Regions from separate parts of the Homo sapiens genome. Here all the other regions are linked to region 2. The links are contacts of gene promoters, found by promoter capture Hi-C in blood cells and fetal thymus (Javierre and others, 2016). All regions are on one chromosome and are shown on one strand. Each heading gives the region's core, a stretch centred on a gene start or on the middle of the fragment in contact. The rest is flanking DNA. Distances are from core to core; before and after follow the strand shown.

Region 1 (6,566 bases), core at 2,522-5,021, 360 kb before region 2:
TTCTTGGGCTACTGGGCAGGAAAAGAAAGACAGATGATACTCATGTAATAGTAATGGCACTCTCAGGTTTGCTTGGCATTTTAGGCCTCTTACCCCTAGAACAATAGGAACTGGGGTCCTTAGAGCAATAGAACTAGAGGATGTCTGAGTTCTCTTTTTCTCTTCAGTTTTTAAGAACGTTTATTGTGGTTAATAGGTTTTTGATCCTAGAGAATATTGGGATTGTACTACCATGGTCGTCCTCGTTAAATACCTTTAAAATCTTATTTTTTTTAACTATAAAAATAGGGAATCTGTGGAAATGAACTGATTCCCCTCTCCTTTAACCTTGTTTTATTTTCATTTTTATTTTTATTTGTTTTTTTTTTGAGACGGAGTCTCACTCTGTCATCCAGGCTGGAGTGCAGTGGCGCGATCTCGGCTCACTGCAACCTCTGTCTCCTGGGTTCAAGCAGTTCTCCTGCCTCAGCCTCCCAAGTAGCTGGGATTACAGGTGCCCACCACCATGCCCGGCTAATTTTTGTATTTTTGGTAGAGGCTAGGGTTCACCATGTTGGACAGGTTGGTCTCGAACTTCTGACCTCAGGTGATCCACCTGCCTCGGCCTCCCGAAGTGCTGGGATTACAGGTGTGAGCCACTCCGCCCAGCCAAACCTTGATTTTAAGGTCAGAATCATGGTGCTTTTTTCCCCCGAGCATGGCCTGGATTTATGAGCTCTGTAAATCAAGTACTGGCCCAGAACAGGAGGCAGTGGGGGGATTCCAGCACCCCCAGGCAAAAGAGGAGGTAGGGAGAATTATGGGTAATAATACTTGTGCTTCTTACTGAGATGGAGAGCTTGCTGGGAGCCTGATTCGTTTTTTCTCTAGTTGGACTCAGAGTTAACAGCCCGACATGAGCTACAGGTGGAAATGAAAAAGATGGAAAGTGACTTTGAGCAGAAGCTTCAAGATCTTCAGGGAGAAAAAGATGCACTGCATTCTGAAAAGCAGCAAATTGCCACAGAGAAACAGGACCTGGAAGCAGAGGTGTCCCAGCTCACAGGAGAGGTAATGCCTGAGCAGGGAAGGCAGAATGACCTGTAACCTCAGGATGCACATGGCTTGGAACAGGAGTCAGTCATCTCGCTCCTAGGGAGGGTTCAGCTACTAATAGGTAATCTAGTTACATGGTGCATATTTTAAAAATAATATACTGGTTTTTGGTTTGTGTTGGGGGTAAGTAATACATAAGACAGAAAATCTGGAAAATACAGAAAAACATTAAGAATAAAGTAAGTTTCATTACCACCCAGAAATAAAAGTAATAAGTCTCCTAATAAATTAGGAATAAAAACTAAACTGTTAAAAATTGACTAATTTCCTGTTATTTTAGTCACCTCTGCACAGATTTATCCTTACACACTCTCTCTGCAGTAGTAAATACTTAAATGATCTTTGATGTCTGATAACTTGATTACTTATGTGGTTATATAATCATCTGTGTAGCACATATATTAGTTATATAACTAGAACATTTAATTTACTTGACCTTTACATTTTCTAATCAAGGGAGGGTTTAACATAAAGGTTGAAATTGTCTTCTTAATACAAAGCATGCTGAACTAAGAACATGAAAACCTGAATTCTAGTTTTGGCTCTGCTGCCAAGCCGTGTGACTTTAGGTGATCATGTCATCTCTCTGACTCCTCTCAGTTCCTCCATTTGTAACATGAGAAGTTTGGATTAAGTAGTTTATTAGGTTCCTTCCAGTCCCAGTAGTCCCTGAAGTGGGGTGAGAAGTACTCACATTGATGTTATTTCTGTAGGTTGCCAAGCTGACAAAGGAACTGGAAGATGCCAAGAAAGAAATGGCTTCCCTCTCTGCGGCAGCTATTACTGTACCTCCTTCTGTTCCTAGTCGTGCTCCTGTTCCCCCTGCCCCTCCTTTACCTGGTGACTCTGGCACTATTATTCCACCACCACCTGCTCCTGGGGATAGTACCACTCCTCCTCCTCCTCCTCCTCCTCCTCCTCCTCCACCTCCTTTGCCTGGGGGTGTTTGCATCTCCTCACCCCCTTCTTTACCTGGAGGTACTGCTATCTCTCCACCCCCTCCTTTGTCTGGGGATGCTACCATCCCTCCACCCCCTCCTTTGCCTGAGGGTGTTGGCATCCCTTCACCCTCTTCTTTGCCTGGAGGTACTGCCATCCCCCCACCTCCTCCTTTGCCTGGGAGTGCTAGAATCCCCCCACCACCACCTCCTTTGCCTGGGAGTGCTGGAATTCCCCCCCCACCTCCTCCCTTGCCTGGAGAAGCAGGAATGCCACCTCCTCCTCCCCCTCTTCCTGGTGGTCCTGGAATCCCTCCACCTCCTCCATTTCCCGGAGGCCCTGGCATTCCTCCACCTCCACCCGGAATGGGTATGCCTCCACCTCCCCCATTTGGATTTGGAGTTCCTGCAGCCCCAGTTCTGCCATTTGGATTAACCCCCAAAAAGCTTTATAAGCCAGAGGTGCAGCTCCGGAGGCCAAACTGGTCCAAGGTAAGAGTTTCTGTCTATTTCTTCACCAGTCAATCTTTTTTTTTTTTTTTTTTTTTTGAGACGGAGTTTCGCTCTGTCGCCCAGGCTGGAGTGCAGTGGTGCGATCTCGGCTCACTGCAAGCTCCGCCTCCCGGGTTCACGCCATTCTCCTGCCTCAGCCTCCCGTGTAGCTGGGACTATAGGCGCGCGCCACCACGCCCGGCTAATTTTTGTATTTTTAGTAGAGACGGGATTTCACCGTGTTAGCCAGGATGGTCTCGATCTCCTGACCTCGTGATCCGCCCGTCTCGGCCTCCCAAAGTGCTGGGATTACAGGCGTGAGCCACCGCGCCCGGCCCACCAGTCAATCTTAAGAAACAGTTTCAGTTTTCTACTTTGTATTTTGTGCATGGATGGGCTACGCCTTAAGGCTTTCATCTTTCTATCTTTAAGCTTCACTCATGCTTATGTTTATTCAGGAGATATTAGGCATCTTCTTTATTCCATACATCACCACGGAGAGTTCTGTGAACCCTGTATTCTGAATTTAATCTTAACTTAATGTTTTTTGCCTTTTCTCTGAGGCTGTGAATACCATGGTAACACACAGTTTGATAATAGTCATTCACCAGTCTGCAAACTACTGATAATTGTGCTGATCCCAAAGTCATGGATTTATGAATCCACTCTCCTATCCCAATTCCGCAGGATGTGAGTTACACAGGCCATTTTTTTTTTTTTTTTTGAGTTGGAGTCTTGCTCTGTTGCCCAGGCTGGAGTGCAGTGGCATAATCTCTGCTCACTGCAACCTCAGCCTCCTGAGTAGCTAGGATTACAGGCGTGTGCCACCATGCCTGGCTAATTTTTGTATTTTTAGTAGAGATGGGGTTTCACCATGTTGGTCTGGCTGCTCTCGAACTCCTGACCTTGTGATCCGCCCACCTTGGCCTCCCAGAGTGCTGGGATTACAGACGTGAGCCACCACACCTGGCCTACATAGGCCATATTTGCATGCACAGTATTGTTCCCATGATGTGTTTGAGATGCCTGTGATTCTGAGTGAGTTAGCCTTTTTCTTCTAGAAACCAAGTTAATATAAAGGACCTTAGGGATTTGCTCATAAAATGAGCAAATTTGGCACAGTTAGCCAAACTGGTGGGAGAAATTTAATGATGAGCAAGACTTCTCTGAAATAAAGCCTTAATGGTTATGAAGCTAGAGGATTTGGAGTTAGGAGGAGGATACGTAGTATATATATGAATCTAGTTCTTGAATAATCACCAATTAACAGATGAACTGGAAGTATTCTCTCCTAATCCCACTGCAGCTATTCTGTGCCTCAAGTTAGTCTTATTCTAGTAAGACATTGCTGATAATCAGCCAGCCACCTATTTTACAGCCTCATCCGTTTTCTAGGACGGAAAGTACAGGGCTCAGTTTACTAATTCTTAACACCCTGCCTTTATCCACAGCTTGTGGCTGAGGACCTCTCCCAGGACTGCTTCTGGACAAAGGTGAAGGAGGACCGCTTTGAGAACAATGAACTTTTCGCCAAACTTACCCTTACCTTCTCTGCCCAGACCAAGAGTGAGTACCTTCCTCTTTGATGCAAAGGTCCAGTGTAGGGCTTAGAATATTTTTTCATTAGGTTTCCTATTCCCTTCCCTTCCCTGGGTGAAGATAGAAAGGGTATGTTGGATGGAAGACTGATGGATTTTCCCATTCAAAAGAAAGAAAAGATGTTTTTGTATTAAATATTATGGAGTTACTTGGTTTGGGAAAGAGAACTGTTGTATGTAGGTATTTTGTATCAGTATAACTTGTTAGGGATATGAGATTAAAGTGACAGAGCTTGATTTGGGCCCATTTTGATACTTTTGAACAGATTCTGGCACTGCCTTAAGGTGCAGTTTCCAGTTCTAAGTACATAATTAATAAGGGTTGGAAAGAGTCTTTAACAGTTTGGGTGACTGAGTGACTGTCTACAGTAACAAGAACCATATGTGATTCCTTTTCTTCCTTCCATTTCTTTCCAATATTGGATGCCTTCTCCCTCCTGGCACTTTGCTCCTGAAGCTTCCAAAGGTAAGAATACAAAAGAGCCTTTTAGTTTGGTCTCTTGAATATTAGAGAAAAAGATGAAATAGATATAAAGGAATTTCTCATTAGAAAACTGAGACCAGAGATTGAGGGTTGACTTGTCTTTGCTAGGTGTTTTTTGTTTTTGTTTCCTCCCCTGGAGTTCAAAATGACCAATAGCTTTGGCATTAACTAATAGGGAGGAAAGTTTGCTTCCCGTTAAACTACCACATACTTAATCTCTTTAGAAGGTGAGGGACAACGTAAGCAATAATACTATTACCTTACATTTGTGCTGTTTTACAATTTTCATAGTGCCTTAACATATATGACCCTATTTGATATGCAGAGAAGCCTTATGAGACAGGCAGGATGTGTATCATCTCCATTCTGTAGCATATATAGACTCTGAACAGTTAGGTAGCTTTCCCAAGGTTATGTGATCAGAACCAGGAGTCTTGACTTCTGGTCCATTTTTTCTATATAAATTCTTGATTTTCTTTTTTAGCCTTCATATGGTTCCTTTTATTTTACAAGAGCTGATCTACTTTGCCCTCTTCTTTCTTGACTTCCTAATTCTTGTGGTTTTGTGCTACCTTGTGATAGGGTACTTATAGTTACTTCCCCTGAGATAGTATTTGAAAGATTGTGTCATGTATAATGACAATTATAGCCCAATAATTTCATATTTTTATCTTCTTCCAGCATTTTTGTTTGTTTAGAGGCTTACTATGACCCTAGTGATGAAAATTAAGTGCAACTTTGGAGCATTTATTTTCCCCACCTCCCCCTAGTCAATTAGTATTTTTAAAGGCAATTCCTTTTTTTTTCCTTAAGTGATCTGATGGAAACAGGCTGCACTTTGTTCTAATAAGGAGTCTAACAGATTGTGAGGTGCCTTGGTGGCCCCTAGTTACATATGTGTGTGTGTGTATCTAGGAGTATAAGACCATAATGCTCAGATCTGTCTTGTTGCCCTGTCATTCAGGTCAAAATGGCCTTTTCCTCTAAGAAAATTGTCACCTTCCATGCCAAAGTCCAGCCTAAGGGATTAATTCCACTCTCTTAATTAAAATACTGGGATGGTAACCACATATACTGTATTAGTCTATCAATAAAGACTAGTTGACAAAGTCAAAATTAAATGATTTTCTAATTTGTAAGTTCACAGAATCCCTATGTTGGCCTCTGGCATAAGTTTCTTTCTTGAGTCTGGGCTCTGCACTTTTAGTGCCATTGCAAATGAATACTGACTGGGCCCCTTTTCTCCCCCCACCCCCATCCCCATCTTTTTATTTGGTGCATTTGTATTCCTATTAATTCTAGTTGGGTTTTATACAGTTTAGTGGTCTTCCTTGGCATTATATTCTCATTATGAATTGGGATATGGTAGTATTTTTTAAAATACCAAAGTGGCCCCCTTAGTCACAAAAGGCCAATAAAAAGAAAACTTTAGTAAAAGATCTTTGTGCTTCTTATTTAGAGTTTAGGTTTTTGTCAGATAAGGAATTTCAAGCTCTCAAAAATTGCAAGCACTCAGAAGACCCAGATCTCCTCAGTATGACAGCAAGTATACTTTACTTCAGTGCTTTAAACATCTCTAGTATTTATATTTCAGAAAAAGATCTTCATCCTTAACTACTTTTATTTTTTTTATTTTTATTTTTATTTTTGAGACAGAGTGTTGCTCTGTCGCCCAGGCTGGAGTGCACTGGCGCGATCGTGCTCACTGCAGCCTTCGCCTCCCGGGTTCAAGGGATTCTCCTGCCTCAGCCTCCTGAGTAGCTGGGATTACAGGCACCCACCATCATGTCCAGCTAATTTTTGTATTTTTGTAGAGATGGAGTTTTACCATGTTGGGCAGGCTGGTCTTGAACTCCTGACCTCAGGTGATCTGCCCACCTTGGCCTCCCAAAGTGCTGGGATTACAGGCATGAGCCACTGTGCCCGGCCATCCTTACTACTTTTTAAAAGTAATTCTTG
Region 2 (5,951 bases), core at 2,066-4,565:
GGTTTATAAGAAAATGAAATCATAGATAAAGTTTATTTCTAAATAAAGATTGAACAGTAGTATGAATACGATAAAAACTTTTCTTCTCTTTAGTTAGGCAGAAACTTGCCAGGTGATATCCAATGACAAAAACAGTATGGAATGGGAGCAAAGTCACTGACTTAGAGTCAGGCAGATCTAGGATGGATGCTCAGTTTTGTCACTTATTAGTTAGTGGACCTTAGTGAACTTACTGAATCTCTAAGACCGTCTATTTGGTCATTACTAAAATACCATGTCACATATGTTTCTTCTGAGATTAAAAGTGTGAAAATAGTGTATGATTCATAAAACAACTTTTTTTAAAAAAATAAAGTTTAAAAAGGTACACTACAATCTATGCTTCTGAAACTAGGGTAGGTATACTCGAACAGCATTCTAATCAACTCAGAAAACAAAAGTCACAGTAAATATTGAAAACAATGGAAAGCAATTTAAAATATCTCAAACAAGACTTACCACTTAATAGACTTTATATTAAGCATAATTGTTTGACATAAACCATTACACATGCACATTTCCTGCTTTGTGAAGTGTTCTTGGTACTAAATCTGTATCCTTTTCTATGTAAAGAAATTTATTTCTTGACTTGAAGAGTATGTATTTGAAGTGATCAAAAATACTACTTTACAGGCACCTCACGATAAGTTCCTAATTATAAATGTATTCATAAACACAGGTTTTATTTTTCATTCTTTATCAGAAACCCAAATTATTCTGAAATGGGGGATTTTCTTCGACTTCACTACCTGTGCTCTGGGGTAGGAAGTTGGGGATAATTGGTTTCAGAAATTTGAACTTATTTGACCTGGAGCCTCCAGTCACACACACCTCATAGTGGTAGCTCTGGGACAGGGTCCCGGTGCCACTCACGTCCACCAGATGTCCTGGAAAGGGGCCCTCAGGCACCGAGCAGCGACCGACCGGGGCCGCCCTGCTCCTCCTGCACAGCCGCACCGCCACGAACAGGAGCACCGAGAAGAGGAAGAGCGACGACACTGAGGCCAACGCCACCACCAGGTAGACAGTGAGCGAGTCGGCCTGGGCCTGGGCCGGGGCCGCCTCCGGGAGAGGCAGGTAGGGCTGGGAGAAGCCGTCCACCAGGAGCACGTGCAGCGTGGCGGTGGCCGAGCGCGGAGGCTCGCCATTGTCCTTGACCAGCACCACCAGCCTGTGCTTGGCCGCGTCGCGCTCGCTCAGCAGCCTGGCGGTGCGCACCTCGCCATTGTGCGCCCACACGCCGAATAGCCCGGGCTCCGTGGCCTTGAGCAGCTGGTACGACAGCCAGGCGTTCTGGCCCGAGTCACCGTCCACCGCCACCACCTTGGTCACCAGGTAGCCCGGCTCGGCCGCCCAGGGCACCAGCTCGGTGCAGGGCGCGGAGCCGTTCTGCAGCGGGTACAGCACGAAGGGCGAGTTGTCGTTGGCGTCCAGCACCAGCACGCGCACCAGCGCCTCGCTGCTCAAAGCCGGGGAGCCGTGGTCTGTGGCGCCCACGCGGAACTGGAACCCCTGCAGGGCCTCGTAGTCCAGCGACCTGAGGGCAAACAGGTGGCCGTTGTCCGCGTTGATGGAGACCAGGGAGGCGAGGGGCAGGTGCGGGTCCTGGGACGGCAGCAGCGAGTAGTTGACCTGGGCGTTGGTGCCCGAGTCTCTGTCTGTGGCGCTGATGCTGCCGATGTGCAGGGCGGGGCTGTTGTTCTCGCGGACGAACAGGGCGTAGGAAGTTTGGGTGAAGGCGGGGGCGTTGTCATTGACGTCGGAGACCAGCACGGTTATGTTGTGCTCGGTTTTTAGCCTGGGGGTCCCCAAGTCGGTGACGGTGATGGTGATGTTGTACTCGGCTCTGCTCTCTCTGTCCAGCGGTCTCTCTGTTTCCAAAGTGTAGTAATTATTTACCGAAGATTTTAGCACGAATGGGATGTCCTCCGGGATAGAACAAACCATCTTTCCGTTGTCCCCAGAGTCTCTGTCTCGTATCCTGAAAACCATAACCACAGTCTCTGGAGTGTTTTCTGGGATTGGACTGGTAATTGATGACACAGTGATTTCAGGAGCGTTGTCGTTTACATCCATCACCTGAATTCTGACTGTAGATTTTCCAAAAAGTCCTCCCCCATCTGTGGCTTGAATGATTATTGAGTATGACTCAATTGCTTCAAAATCCAAAGGTGCTGTTAAAGTAATGTCACCAGACTTTTGATTAATTTCAAATGTCTTGCGAATATCTTCTGAGGCATGGGAAAAGGTATAGGATAGTTCACTGTTTGTTCCAGAGTCTAAATCCCAGGCTGAGACGGTCACAACCAGGGAGCCAAGGATGCTATTCTCCAGAATCTTCACCTCATAAAAAGCCTGCTCAAACTCAGGGGAGTTGTCATTAATATCTACAACCACCACCCTGACCAAGGCAGTTCCAGACCTGGGAGGGGACCCGCCATCCAGAGCAGTGAGGATGAAACTGAGCTCCGGGCGCTCTTCATAATCCAGCGCCTTGTCCAGAACTAACTCAGGGTATTTCCTATTGTCTGGATTGACTCTTATTTTAACGTGGAAATGAGAGTTCGGATTTATTGTGTAGCTTTTTACAGCATTGATTCCTACATCTAAATCCTTTGCACTTTCAAGCAAGAACACAGCACCAACAGGACTGTTCTCTGGGATTTCTAAGAGCATTTCTTTTTCCAAGAAGACGGGAGAGTGATCATTTATATCCCTGACCTGGAGCTCAATTTGTAAAAACTGCGTGGGGTTTTTCATTAACACTTGGAAATACAGCACACAAGGCTCATTGGAGCCACAGAGCTCCTCCCTGTCTAGCATTTCTCTCAGGAGCAAATCCCCAGTGTTTGTGTCCAGCTGCAAACACTCTTTGTTATCATTAGAAACCACCCGAGCCCCCCGCGAAGACAGCTCACTCACCTCGAGTCCCAGGGTCTTTGCCAAATTTCCTACAAAGCTCCCGCTCTGCAATTCCTCCATCACCAAAAAGTTCCCAGTTTCAGAGCCCGCCTGAGACATTCCCAGCAAAACAAAGAAAAGCAGGACTTGCCTTATCTGCAGAGTGCCTGCCCCTCCGTTTTCCATAGCTTCTTTTCCAAAACCCCAAAATCTTCTTGCAGAATTGCCTCAGCGCCTCTTCGCAGTTGTGGGAAACGTGCCTCTGATCTGTCTACCAAATCCTCGGAAGCCTGAAGATTTTAACCTTGTTGAATGGCTTCTAGGTTCTCCCTTAAAGGATTGTTCTTTCTGTCTTCCCAGTTCTCCGCGTGTACTGGATAACAGGGTCTACAACATCCTCCAGGGTAATTTTTTTCTTGATATTATCCTGCAGCGCCACCACGCGTCTCCACAGATTTTCACAGTTTGATGAACACTACCTAAATTTTATTTACATAAATGTCCTCCAGAAGCAAATAAATATTGCGTTTAAATAATTCCTTCTGTTGAAGTAATTAAAAATATATTTTATCTTCCATAATAATCGTTTTATATTCTTTATAGTTTGTGATGATGATTTTGTTTTAAAGCATTTATTCAGTGTCTTTCCCCACTCTTCTCACAACCAAATGTGTTCAGTTGTGGTAAACACAGATACAAGATGTGATCCCTGGCTCCCAGGAATTCATAGTGTTTCTGAGACAATTGTAAGCCTGAAACAAGCAGGGTATAAGTGATTGTTAAGCTGAATGAAATTCTATTACTACTTGGCTTTCCTTACGTGATAAGGTAAAGGAAAGGTCATCTCAGAAATCCTTTCTGAAGTTATGAAACTGGATTAACCATGAGATGAGGCATATATAGGTCAACACAACAGCATAAAAAGGCACTTCTGTAGATTTCCTTAATAGCAATGAATTGTGAACAGGCAGAAAATGAAGCAAGAGATTGGGGTGGAACATGTTATGTAAACCCATCATTTAGTTCCAGTTTTTCATAATTTACAAAAAAATTCATAAGTACACAAGCATGAGCAAGTTAGTTTAATTTAAAGCAGACTCTTATTCCTAAAGCTGACTTGCCTTAGGTTCCCAAAATTTATTGTAGCCACAACTGTAGCTATCTGTTTTCTCTTTCAGCCCAGGAAGAGAAAGTAAGAGTCTATCCCTAAACATAGAACAAAAACCTAACTTTCACTCTAATTAGACCAAGTAAGATCATGTGTCTGCCACTGAAGCAATCATTGTTTCAAGAGGTATAGAATTATAGTTGGAGATTTTAGTCCTAGAATCTAAAGACCTGTCTCTGGCCATTACTGTGTTTTAATCCTGTCTGGGACCACCTCTTAAGCTTGGGAAGGTTTCAGTCCTAGCCAAAGTACCTCATTGGTACAAAATGAGGGAGACTGTTTGCAACAGATGCTAAGGGCTCATCAGTGATATTCACTATAGAAAGTCTTAAAGTGCACTAAGAATGGATGGGAGAAGAATCCAACAAGTCTGCATTTTAAAATGTTAAATTCAATTAATATTCTTAAAAATGTAAGCTGGATACATGGTTGAAATAGTAATTGGTACAGAAGGGTAAAACTTGAAAAGTAGATGAATTGAGCACACACAATTAACCTCTCTTTTTAAAAAAAAATATGCACTAAAATGGCAGAAAAGTAATTAAAATGGTAGGAACTAACAAAGATTAAGAATACACAAGTGAACACATACATTTTTCTATGACAGAAAGCAGGTGGAAGAGCAATTAACTTAGCAGTTCCAAAAAGTGCCCCTAAAGTAAAGTTCCTGCATTGAAGATACTCACAAGAAACATAATCTCTTTTAAGCGCAAGATCTGGAGGAACCAGATGTTTAAGAAGACTGAAGTCAGTTAAGGATGGAAAAAAGTTATTAGTTGGAAGTATGTGTAGAGGATAATTGAATTCTCTGTTCTTCTCATCACCCTACATAGATGGAAACATAACTCACAGCCAGAAAATAGAAAGTTTATTCTCTGGAGAAATTTAATGGGACTTTCTCTAGTCTTGGGGATCTAGGCACAGCTGAGCACAAGTGTGAGGTGTCAAACTGAAAATAGGGAGAGTAAGCAAACCTTTGCATTTTGCATGGTGAGACTTCTAATCCCTTTTCATGCAATACTCTTAGACTGTAGGACACAAAGTGTATGCCTGACCCCTAGTCTATCCCCATAGTGTATATTGTAGAATTCTAACCTGGAGAATATGAAAGCCCAAATGAAGACACATATTAATATTTGGCATCTCATAAGGTAATAGACTTATCCTAGCATGGTTATATTAGAATGAAGCCCTGCCATCAACAGGTACTGTTCGCTCACAGAGTTGATTGTCAGCATTTTGATATATCATCCTTCTAAAATACGAGAAGATAGCCAAGGCATTTGAGGAAATGCCTGCAACATAACATAGAAAGACCAAAACTACCACCATCGCTACCATCAAGAAAAAAAAAAGGAACAATAATATAGAAAGCAGAAGAAAGCCTTTGAAAATGTCTGGTTAATATTCCCAGAGAAAGAAAATCTAATAAAAGCTAATACTTATTTAGTATTTACTCTATGCTACTCATTGTTCTAAGTGCCTCATAATGCATTTATCCATTTAATCTAAATAGTAGCTGTATGAAGTATGTATTTATCCACTTAATCTAAATAGTAACTATATGAAGTACATATTCCTATTGTAAGATGAAGACTAGATTAGGACTTCAGTGCTTTTTACTAGCTATATTACCTTGGACAAGTTCTTAACTCCCCTTAGACTCACTTTCACTTTTAAAATGGATATATAATAATGATACTGCCTAATGCATTTTTAAAGAAAAGATTAATTATAAATGAGAGAAAATATTACATTTATAAATCTATGACAGGATGCCATGAAAAACATTCAGAGAACCAAAAACAACTCTTAAAAGTAAATATTTTTCAGTCATAAAGAA
Region 3 (5,966 bases), core at 1,888-4,387, 270 kb after region 2:
AATGGACATATACAGAACACAACAACAAGCAATGTCAGAATACTGCTTTTTCTTGAACATGCAGAACATTTATAGAAATTGACCATTCACACCCTGAAATACTATATAATGACAATGAATGATACACAGCTACACACAACAATATAAATGTATCTCACAAATGATAATGTCCAGCAACACACACATACATACAAGTTGGTTATTCCTGTTATTGAAGTTTTCAGTACCCTTATTGATTTTCTTTTGTCTCCTTGTTCTGTTTTTGAGCAAGGTATGTTAAAATTTTCCATTTTGATTAACCAAACTAATACAACAAGAAATAGAGGCTCTGTATAATTCTATAACTATTAATGTTATAGACATTGAATTTATAATTAACATTCTCATGAAGAGAATTCTAGGCCTATAAATTTCACTCTTAATTCTTCAAATGCTTATGGAAGAAAAAAATGCTGATTTACACAAACTTGCTATGATCTGAATGTTTGTGTTCCCTCCTCCTTTGCAATCATAAGTTGAAATGCTAACCCCTAAGATTATGATATTAGGAGGTAGGGCTTTTGTAGAGATGATTAGATCACGAGGGCACAGCTCTCATAAAAGAGGTTCCAGAGAGCTACCTTGCTCCTTCCAGAAGGTGAAGAGACAGCAAGAAGGTGACATTCTGTTTTATGAACCAGGGAGTGGGCCATTACCAGACACAAATCTGCCAGGACCTTGATCATCAACTTTCCAGCTTCCAGAATTGTGAAAAATAAATTTCTATTGTTTTTAAGCCACCCAGTTTATGCTATTTTGATATAGCAGCCCAAATGGACTAAGACAACTCTTCCGAATAAGTAAAAGAAAAGTAACACTTCTTAACTTACTATATAAAGCCAGGATAGCCTTGATGCCAAACTCCGACTAGAGCATTATAAGAATGGAAAGTTAAAAGCCAATTTCTTGTGCGTGTGTGTGTGTGCGCATCTGTGTGTGTGTGTGTTGCTTCTTAACTTTTAAGTTCAGGGGTACATGGGCAGGTTTGTTATAACGCAAACTCATGTCACAGGGGTTTGTGGTACCGATTATTTCATCATTCAGGTACTAAGTCTAGTACCCAATAACTATGCCTTTAAAAATAATTATTTTTTTCTGTAGAAACGCGTTTCTATCATAAACATATATTTAAAAACTGTAAAGAAAATGTTAGGAAACTAAGTCTAATGATATAAAGAAGGATTATACATCATAAGCAACCTGAGTTTATTCCAAGAATGCAAGATTGGTTTATCATTAACAAATCAACCAATATAATGCATGCTATTAATAAAAGGATAAAAATCCATATTATCCATTCAATAACAGAAAATATGTGATAAATTCAATGCCTATTCATGATTTTTAAAAAACATAATAAATTAAAAAACAAAGGGAACTTAATAAATCTGATAAAGGATTTTTGCAAATAAACCCAATCAAACAATGTATTTCATATTAAATATTTAAAAACTTCCTCTCTGAGACCAGGAATAAGACAAGATTATCCATTAACATTACTTCTATTCAATTTTATACTGAATTTCATAGGCAATGACAGAAAGCAAGAAAACTATGTGATTAGAAAGTTTTTAAAAGACCAGGCATGGTGGCCTATGCCTGTAATCCCAGCACTTTGGGAGGCTGGCGTGGGAGGATTGCTTGAGCCCAGGAGCTCCAGACTAGCCTGGGCAATGTAGTGAGACTCTATCTCTATTTTTTTAAAAAAAGAGAGAAAGTAAAAAATACAATAATAAAACTAACATTATTTGGGAATAGCATGACAGTATATGTAGAAAACCCAAAATATAAAAATATGAGATTTTACTATTTAGCAAGAACATTGGATACAAAGTTAACATAAAATCAGTATTATTTCTATATACTTTCAACAAAAGCCAATTATCAAATTAAACTTTTTTTTTTTTTTTTGAGACGGAGTCTCACTCTGTCGCCCAGGCTGGAGTGCAGTGGCGCGATCTCGGCTCACTCCAAGTTCCGCCTTCCAGGTTCATGCCATTCTCCTGCCTCAGCTTCCCGAGTAGCTGGGACTACATACGCCCGCCACCACGCCCGACTAATTTTTTGTATTTTTAGTAGAGACGGGGTTTCACCGTGTTAGCCAGGATGGTCTTGATCTCCTGACCTCGTGATCCGCCTGCCTCAGCCTCCCAAAGTGCTGGGATTACAGGCGTGAGCCACCATGCCCTGCCTTTCTTTTTCTTTTTAGATGGAGTATCACTCTGTTGCCCAGGCTAGAGTGCAGTGACGCGATCCCAGCTCACTGCAACCTCTGCCTCGCAGGTTCAAGCAATTCTCCTGCCTCAGCCTCCTGAGTAGCTGGGATTACGGGTATGTGCCAACATGTCCAGCTAATTTTTGTATTATAAAATTAAACTTTTAAAATAGCATTAAAATATCAGCTATCTAATAAAAGTTGTGCAATACCCCTATATACACATACACACACATAAACATTAAGATAAAATAATAAAATAAATGGAAGAAGCCGGGCGCGGTGGCTCACGCCTGTAATCCCAGCACTTTGGGAGGCCGAAGCGGGTGAATCACGAGGTCAGGAGATCGAGACCATCCTGGCTAACACGGTGAAACCCCGTCTCTACAAAAAATACAAAAAATTAGCCGGGCATGGTGGCGGGCGCCTGTAGTCCCAGCTACTCGGGAGGCTGAGGCAGGAGAATGGCATGAACCCGGGAGGCGGAGCTTGCAGTGAGCCGAGACTGCGCCACTGCACTCCAGCCTGGGCGACAGAGCGAGACTCCGTCTCAAAAAAAAAAAAAAAAGATAAATGGAAGAATATACCTTGTTAATCGGTTGTCTGTCTCAATATTGTCAATGTTAACAAGCTTCATATTTTTATAGATTCAATAAAGATCAAAATAAGATATTTTCAATATACCCCATATTTTCTACAGATTCAATATAGTGCCAATTAAAATCAAAGCAGGGTTTTTTAAAATAGAAACTGAGAAGCTGAATCTACAATTTATATAGAAATGCAAAGGGCCAAAAATAGCTAAGTTAATCTTGAAGCAGAATAACAAAGTGAGAGAACTTACACAATTAGATATCAATACAAATGAAAAGTTACTATATTTAACACAGAATGTATTGGCACAAGAATAGACAAGTTGACCAATGAAACAGAATAGACAGTCCAGAAACAGAATATATAAAGTCACGTTGCTTATGACAAAGGTAGCACTGCACAGTAGCAGCGAGGAAAGTAGGCAATCTAACTGGATTTACAAGTGGAAAATATAAATCTTGACTTCTACATTGCACTATATTCAAAAGCAATTTCAGGTAATTTAAGATCTAAATGTGCAAGTTAAAACAAGAAAGCTTCCAGAACTACAGCAACCACTAAACAGATGTGGTTATTTAAGCTTAAATTAATTAAAATTAGTAACATTAAAAATTGAGTAGCCCAGTTTCACTAGCCACATTTCAAGTGCTCAGTAGCTACACATTCCATATATGCAGATAGAGAAAATTTATAGCATGTCAGAAAGTTCTATTGGATAGCAATGTTATAGAAGAAAACACAGGAATATATCTTCATGACTTGAAGCAGGATATGTTTTCTTTAAAAGGATAGAAAGAATACTAAATAAAAAAGACAACTTTGGCTGGGCGTGGTGGTTTAGGCCTCTAATCCCAGCACTTTAGGAGGCCAAGGCGGGCAGATCACTTAAGGTCAGGAGTTCGAGACCAGCCTGGCCAACATGGTGAAACCCTGTCTCTACTAAAAGTATAAAAATTAGCCGGGTGTGGTGGTGGGTGCCTGTAATCCCCGCTACTCGGGAGGCTGAGGTGGGAGAATCGCTTGAACCCGGGAGGCAGAGATTGCAGTGAGCCAAGATTGTACCACTTTACTCCAGCCTGGGCAACAGAATGAGAATCTGTCTCAAAAAAAAAAAAAAAAGATAATATTGATAAATTGGAGCTCATTAATTGCTAATCAAAAGACACCATTAAGCAGTATGGAATATGTGTAAATACTATACTACTATGAAATAATCTCGTTTATATTTTTAAGTGAAAAAACTCAAAGTGGGGAAGAATGTGTATTGTATGGAATAATAGATACTAGACTTCTCTAAATATATTTTGTTTTATAAGTTTATTTTGGAGCCATGTAAATATTTCACATAATTATAAAAGAAAATTAAAATTTAAAAAGCAAGCCCTAAATTTGAAAGCGACTTGAAAAAAGCCTAGCTCTGTATCTAGCTGGTGGCTTAACTACACAGAGAGGAACTTTTCCAAGATACTTTAAAACACAATAATTTGACTGTACATGCCTACTGGGCATTTGTAAGGATGTGCCTTATAAATGAAAAGAATGACAAAAACTTAAACTGCTACAGTATCATATTATTTCTGTAGTGCTGAAATTGTTTTCTAAGTCCATTGTTTGAGTCCCGTGGGATAACAAATGAGTAATTCTGTTGACGTTAATGAAAACTGGGATTTGACGTATGGGAGAAATAGGAATGTAAGATTGATGAAGTTAAGTAAAAACCTCGGAGTGCTGAACTTTATTAGATTAGTATAAACATGTGATGTATTTTATCTTTTAAAAAATAGACATCCCTTAGCTCAGTAGCTGAAGATACCTAGAAACAGCAACTGACCCAGCAGCAATAAGCACACCTGTTGTTGAGATTATATCTCTAAGTATCATCTTTCACTAAAAATAAGTGAAAGCTCTTTGAAAAATGGCTGATTCTGGGAAAGGAAATGTACAAGATAATCTGAACATCTTGTAATACCAGAAATCAAGGAAGCATTCAAAAGACTATTAAGACTCACATGAAAAGGATTCAGGGTGTTATCACTGGGGAAAAGTGGGTGACAAGCACATGGGATCTCTCTATACTAGTTTTGTAACTTTATGTGAATCCATAATTATTCCAAAATAAAAGGTTTAAAACAAGATACACAAACACACTCACAAAGACTCAGGAGCAAAGCTGAACAGTTCCCAACTTGCCAAAGTTAGCATAATTTGATCATTAAAAAGATAATTGACATGGATTGGGCCATATCAAATATGTTTAAGTCAATGAGTTCATAATGACACCTAAAAAAGGCCTTGGTCCTTTTTGTAAGATGGCCAGGAATCAATTCATTGTTTTGAATACTGCTAAACAAAGGGGAAGAATCAAACATTTATCCTGCCTTTCCTGTGTGAACTGTACCTCAGGCTAATCAAATAGTTGAAGACCCATTACAGAAATGTTACAATTAATTAAAAAAAAGAAGAAATGATAGAATTAGAACGGTAGCTCTCGAAGTGTGGTCTATGGACCCTTTGGGTGTTTATGAGGTGAATATAATTTTCAAAATAATGTTAAAACATTATTTGCATTTTTCACTATATTTACACTTGCATTGATAATGCAAAAGCATTGGTGGGTAAAGCTGGCCACCATAGAACCACAGAAGGAGTCAAAGCAGTGGCTCCACACTGTACTGGTGGTTATTACATTCATGATTGGACATTTGCAGTAAGAAAAATACCAGTAAGAATGCCCTTGATGAAGCACTGATTATTATTAATTTTGATAAATCTCCACAATTAAGTACAAATCTTTTAAACATTTTGTGTGAGGAAATAGAAATGAAAAGTATGTTTAGAGTACTTCTGTTGCACACTGAAATATAAACATATAAGGAAGGAAATAAATTAATAAAGTATGAAAATTAATAAAATAGAAAGCAAACATACAACAAAGCGAACCCAAAACACCAAAAGTTAGCCTTGGAAAGACTAATATCATTAATAAACTACTTCCAAGTCTAGTCAAGAAAAATGAGAGGTGACACTAACACCAGGATTGAAAAGGGAAACATCACTACAGATCCTGCAGATGTGAAAAAAAGTCACAACAGGACATTATAAACAACTTTATGCCAAA
Region 4 (5,896 bases), core at 882-3,381, 430 kb after region 2:
TTGACCAGCCTGCTTTTACTTTGACTAGGCCATTTGCACCTCTTGGTAGCATTGCTTTGATTGTGCTTTGTCTTCAAGATCATACTGCTAAAGCCATGTGTCATCTCCTGTTACAGTTCTCCAAAGAAAGTATTCAGAATCTTGATCCCATTGTTTAAAATTTCCATGGAAACTCAGTTCTCATCTGCAGCTGATCTAGGTGCAATGGTTTTGGACCCATTGAGGAGAAATTTGCTCAACTTTAATTTTTTAGTCAGAAGTGATCAAAGGAAAGCAGAAGCATCTATCAAATAGAGTTCAAGACAAAGATAACTACCGGTATATAGAGGAAAATCAGGCCAGGAGCGGTGGCTCATGCATGTAATCCCAGCAACTTGGGAGGCCAAGGCGGGTGGATCATTTGTGGTCAGGAGTTCAAGACCAGCCCGGCCAACGTGATGAAATCCCCTCTCTACTAAAAATACAAAAATGAGCCTGGCGGTAGTGGTGCGCGCTTGTAATCCTAGCTACTTGGGAGGCTGAGGCAGGAAAATCACTTGATCCTGAGAGGTGGAGGTTGCAGTGAGCCGAGATCACACCACTGCACTCCAGTCCGGATGACAGAGTGAGACCCTGTCTCAAAAAAAAAGAGAGAGAGAGAGAGAGGAAAATTATAAATGATAAGGAGTCAATCCACCAAAAAGACATGGCAACCCTAAATGTGTATGCACCAAACAACAGAGCTGTGAAACAAAATCTCATAGAACTAAAAGGAGAAACAGATAAATCCACAATTATAATTGGAGACTTCAACAATTCTCTCTCAACAAATAACAGAACAACTAAAAAGAAAATCAGCAAGAATATAGAAGAACTCAGTAACATCACTAACCAATGGAAACTAATTGACATTTATAGAACACACTATTCAACAATCACGGGCTGAGCACAGTGGCTCACACCTGTAATCCCAGCACTTTGAGACACTGAGGCAAGCAGATCACTTGAGGTCAGGAGTTCGAGATCAGCCTGGCCAACATGGTGAAACCCTGTCTCTACTAAAAATACAAAAATTAGCCAGGTGTGGTGGTGCATGCCTGTAGTCCCAGCTGCTTGGGAGGCTGAGGCAGGAGAATCACTTGAGCCCGGGAGGTGGAGGTTGCAGTGAGCCAAGAGCCAAGATCATGCCACTGCACTCCAGCCTGGGCAACAGAGTGAGACTCTGTCTCAAAAAAAAAAAAGAGAGAGAGAGAGAGAGACTCCATCATCTCAAAAAAAAAAAATTTCAAAATACACTCTTCCAAGTGCCAGTGAAACATATCTCAAAACACATCTTGCCCTGAGTCATAAAACAAGCCTCAGTAAATGTAAAAGACATGAAATCATACAGAGTGTGTTCTGTGACCACAATGGAATCAAAGGAGAAATCAATAACATAAAGATAAAAGAAAAATATTCTAACACTTGGATGTTAACGTATCTCTAAATAATCCATGGGCCAAAGACGATGTCTCAAAGGAATAAAAAAAAATACATGGTATGAGGTAAAAAAAATTTAATTTAAAAAATAACACCAATACTAATCTCTCCCAGAAAATACAAGAGGTCTTCAAAAAGTTCATGAAAAATGCGTACTATGAAAAAATATGCATGAATTTAAATAAAGTTTGCATCATAATAAACTTGTATTAACTTGTTATAACATGTCTGAGCAGGATCTAGTTTAAGCCACAAAGAAGGATAGGACTTCCGTTTGAAAAGACTCCCGATTAGAGCAACATGAATTCACTAAAATTGAAGCAAGAACAAACATCAGATTTATGGTGAAGCTTGGGTGGAAGAATAATGAAATCATTGACACTTTATGAAAAGTTTATGAGGACAATGCCTCAAAGAAATAAGTAGTGTACAAATGAATAACTTGTTTTAAGAAGGGATAAGATGATGTTGGAGATAAAGCCTGTAGTGACAGGCTATCCATATCATTTTATAAGAAACAAATTAGTCCTGTTCATACCGTAATTGAACAGGGCCAATGATTAACAGCAGATACACTAGGAAATACCATAGACATCCCAGATGGTTCAGCTTACACAATTCTGACTAAAAAATTAAAGTTGAGCAAATTTCTGCTCAATGGGTGCCAAATTGCACCCAGATCAGCTGCAGATAAGAGCTGAGTTTCCATGGAAATTTTAAACAATGGGATCAAGATTCTGAATACTTTCTTTGGAGAATTGTAACGGGAGATGAAACATGGCTTTAGCAGTATGATCTTGAAGACAAAGCACAATCAAAGCAATGCTATCAAGAGGTGTAAATTGTCTAGTCAAAGTAAAAGCTGGCTGGTCAAAAGCAAAGGTCCCAACACACACAAAAAGCAAAGGTCATGACAACAGGTTTTGCAGATCTTAAAGGTATTTTGCTTGTTGACTTTCTGGAGGGCCAGAGAACGTTTTAAGAAAGCCAAGCTTTAGCAGAAAAATAACCAGGAAAGCTTTACTATAGAGTTCTTCTCCACCACAACAACGCTCATGTTCATTCCTCTCAACAAGGGCAATTTCACAAGAATTCTGACATGTAAAATCACTGGGCATCCACCATACAGTCCCAGTTTGGTTATTTCTTTTTTTTCTTTTTCTTTTTTTTCGAGACAGGGTCTCACTCTGTCGCCCAGGCTGGAGTGCAGTGGCACGATCTTGGCTCACCGCAACCTCCACCTCCCAGGTTCATGTGATTCTCCTGCTTCAGCCTCCTGAGTAGCTGGGATTACAGGTGTGTGCCATCTTGCCCAGGTAATTTTTATATTTTAATAGAGATGGGTTTTCACCACGTTGGCCAGGCTGGTCTCAAACTCCTGACCTCAAGTGATCCACCTGCCTCTGCTTCCCACAGTTCTGGGATTACAAGTGTGGGCCACCATGCCCTGCCCCAGTGTGATTATTTCTGACTTTTCTTTATTTCCCAATCTTAAAAAATCTTTAAAGAGCATCCATTTTCCTTCAGTTAATAATGTAAACAATTCTTCATTGACATGGTTAAATTCTTAGGACCATCAGCTCTTTAGAGACGGACTAAATGGCTGGTATCATCCCTTATAAAAATGTCTTGAGCTTGGCGGGACCAAGATGGCTAACTAGAAGCAGCAGCAGTTAGAGGCTCCAATTGAGAAGAAACAAAACAGCATGTCAATCCTGCACTGGCAATCGAGGTATCCAGGTTTTATCATCAGGACTGACTAGGCAGTTGGTGTGACCCATAAAGAGCAAGAAAAAGCAGGGTGCTGCGTCGGCCCACATGGAGAAAGGGCAAACCCCACCCCCAACCAAGGAAGGTGGTGAATGAGTATGCTATCTTGCCTGGGAAACCGTGCTTTTTCCACAGATCTGCGCAACCCACAGATCGGAAGATTCCACTCGTGAGCCCATACTACCAGGGCCTTGGGTCCCAACCACAGAGCTGCACAGACTCTCAACAGCCACTCTTGCTGGAATCTGCCTAAAGGTAATGAGTTCCCGGAGGAGAAGCCGCCATCATCACTGCAGCTGCCTGCTGTCTAAGCCATCTGAGCTTCCAGGGGGAGAGATGGCAGCCATCACTGCGGCTGTCAGCTGCCTAAGACAACTGAGCTCCCTGAGGTGGGGGCGGCCCTCATCACTGTGGTTGCTAGCTGCCTAAGAAAACTGAGCTCCCTGCGGGAGGGAAGGCAAACATTACTCCAGCTGCTAGCTAAGTACACTGCTACCTGACACTGAACTGGGGGTAGCGGGGAGGGTGGCAGCCATCACTATAGCTCTAGACCACATTTTTCCCCTCCTGGAGCCGGAGAGACAGGACAGCTTGGTTCCAAGAGGTAATCCCCACAGTGCAGTATACAGGCTGTGGCTGAAAAATGCTGAAAACTCAAAAGGCCAGAGTGCCTCTTCTCCAAATGATCACAACACTTCTCCAGCAAGTGCACAGAACTGGACAGAGGTACCATCCTGATACCAAAACCTGGCAGAGATACAACAAAAAAGGAAAACTTCAGGCCAGTATCCCTGATGAACACTGATGCAAAAATCCTCAATAAAATACTGTCAAACTGAATCCAGCAGCACATCAAAAAGTTTATCCACCATGATCAAGTCTGCTTCATCCCTGGGATGCAAGGCTGGTTCAACATACGCAAATTAATAAACATAATTCATCACATAAACGGAACTAATGACAAAAACCACAAGATTATCTCAAAAGATGCCGAAAAAGCCTTTGATAAAATTCAACATCCTTTCATGTTAAAAACAATCAATAAACTAGGTATTGATGGAACATATCTCAAAATAGTAAGAGCCATTTACGACAAACCCATAGCCAATATCATACAGAATGGGCAAAACCCAGAAGCACTTCCCTTGAAAAGCAGCACAAGACAAAGATGCCCTCTCTCACCACTCCTATTCAACATAGTATTGGAAGTTCTGGCCAGGGCAATCAGGCAAGAGAAAGAAATAACGGGTATTCAAATAGGAAAAGAGGAAGTCAAATTGCCTCTGTTTGCAGACAACATGATCCTATATCTAGAAAAACCCATTGTCTCAGCCCAAAAGCTCCTTAAGCTGATAAGCAACTTCAGCAAAGTCTCAGGACACAAAATCAATGTGCAAAAATCACAAGCATTCCTGTACACCAACAATAGACAAGCAGAGAGCCAAATCATGAATGAACTCCCATTCACAATTGCTACAAAGAGAATAAAATACCTAGGAATACAGCTAACAAAAGATGTGAAGGACCTCGTCAAGGAGAACTACAAACCACTGCTCAAGGAAATAAGATAGGACACAACAAATGGAAAAACATTCCATCCTCATGAATAGGAATAATCAATATCATGAAAATGGCCACACCGCCCAAAGTAATTTATAGAGTCAATGTTATTTCCATCAAACTACCATTGACATTCTTCACAGAATTAGAAAAAATGACTTTAAAATTCGTATGGAACAAAAAAAGAGCCCATATAGCCAAGACAATTCTAAGCAAAAAGAACAAAGCTGGAGGCATCACGCTACCTGACTTCAAACTATACTACAAGGCTACAGTAACCAAAACAGCATGGTACTGGTACCAAAACAGACACATAGACCAATGGAACAGAATAGAGATCTCAGAAATAAGACCACACATTTACAACCATCTGACCTTTAACAAACTTGACAAAAACAAGCAATTGGAAAAGAATTCCCTACTTAATTAATAGTGCTGGGAAAACTGGCTGGTCATATGCAGAAAATTGAAACTGGACCCCTTCCTTACACCTTATATAAAAATTAACTCAATATGGATTAAAGACTTAAATATAAAACCCAAAACCATAAAAACCCTAGAAGAAAATATAAGCAACACCATTCAGGACATAGGCATGAGCAAAGATTTTATGATGAAATCACCAAAAGCAATTGCAACAGAAGCAAAAATTGATAAATGAGGTCTAGTTAAACTAAATACCTTCTGCACAGCAAAAGAAACTATCATCAGAGTGAACAGGCAACCTATAAAATGGGAGAAAATTTTTGCAATCTACCCATCTGACAAAGGTCTAATATCCAGAATTTACAAGGAACTTAAACAAATTTACAAGGAAAAAATACAAACAACCCCATCAAAAAGTGGGCAAAGGACATGAACAGACACTTCTCAAAAGAAGACATTTATGCAGCCAACAAACATGTGAAAAAAAGCTCAACATCACTGATCACTAGAGAAATGCAAATCAAAACCACAGTGATATACCATCTCACACCAGTCAGAATGGTGATTATTAAAAAGTCAAGAAACAATAGATGCTGGTGAGGTTGTGGAGAAATAGGAATGTTTTTATGTTGTTGGTGAGAATGTAAATTAATTCAACCATTTTGGAAAACAGTGTGGCAAT

What was found. Contacts are between HindIII fragments. The CHiCAGO score rates a contact against its expected background, and 5 or more counts as called.
Region 1: a fragment that was not itself captured here is called in contact with the fragment with the promoter of PCDHB12 in region 2 in 1 of 17 cell types (fetal thymus); the score reaches 7.1 in fetal thymus.
Region 3: a contact is called between a fragment that was not itself captured here and the fragment with the promoter of PCDHB12 in region 2, in 1 of 17 cell types (M2 macrophages). The highest score is 6.1, in M2 macrophages.
Region 4: a fragment that was not itself captured here is called in contact with the fragment with the promoter of PCDHB12 in region 2 in 1 of 17 cell types (M2 macrophages); the score reaches 9.0 in M2 macrophages.

Annotation. Positions count from the first base shown.
Region 1 is chr5:141,569,451-141,576,016 of GRCh38, reverse strand. It overlaps DIAPH1 (diaphanous related formin 1), which reads left to right. Exons shown (of 28, transcript NM_005219.5): 15 at 871-1,050; 16 at 1,809-2,525; 17 at 3,977-4,091; 18 at 4,581-4,589. Among named protein-coding and RNA genes, the nearest start is that of DIAPH1-AS1, 14 kb to the right of the region's middle. The HindIII fragment of the contact is 1,623 bases long and covers 2,960-4,582 here.
Region 2 is chr5:141,206,083-141,212,033 of GRCh38, reverse strand. It overlaps PCDHB12 (protocadherin beta 12), which reads right to left and starts at 3,315. Exons shown (of 1, transcript NM_018932.4): 1 at 1-3,315. The coding sequence starts at 3,126. The coding sequence ends at 739. It also overlaps PCDHB@. RefSeq lists an enhancer at 1,294-1,883. The HindIII fragment of the contact is 7,272 bases long and covers 1-4,331 here.
Region 3 is chr5:140,933,896-140,939,861 of GRCh38, reverse strand. The region is part of intron 1 of PCDHA1 (protocadherin alpha 1); the gene reads right to left. The region is part of intron 1 of PCDHA2 (protocadherin alpha 2); the gene reads right to left. All of the region lies in intron 1 of PCDHA3 (protocadherin alpha 3), which reads right to left. All of the region lies in intron 1 of PCDHA4 (protocadherin alpha 4), which reads right to left. It also overlaps PCDHA5, PCDHA6, PCDHA7, PCDHA8, PCDHA9 and PCDHA10, and 5 more genes. Among named protein-coding and RNA genes, the nearest start is that of PCDHAC1, 11 kb to the right of the region's middle. The HindIII fragment of the contact is 499 bases long and covers 2,888-3,386 here.
Region 4 is chr5:140,773,980-140,779,875 of GRCh38, reverse strand. No RefSeq gene overlaps it. Among named protein-coding and RNA genes, the nearest start is that of PCDHA1, 9.2 kb to the left of the region's middle. The HindIII fragment of the contact is 642 bases long and covers 1,811-2,452 here.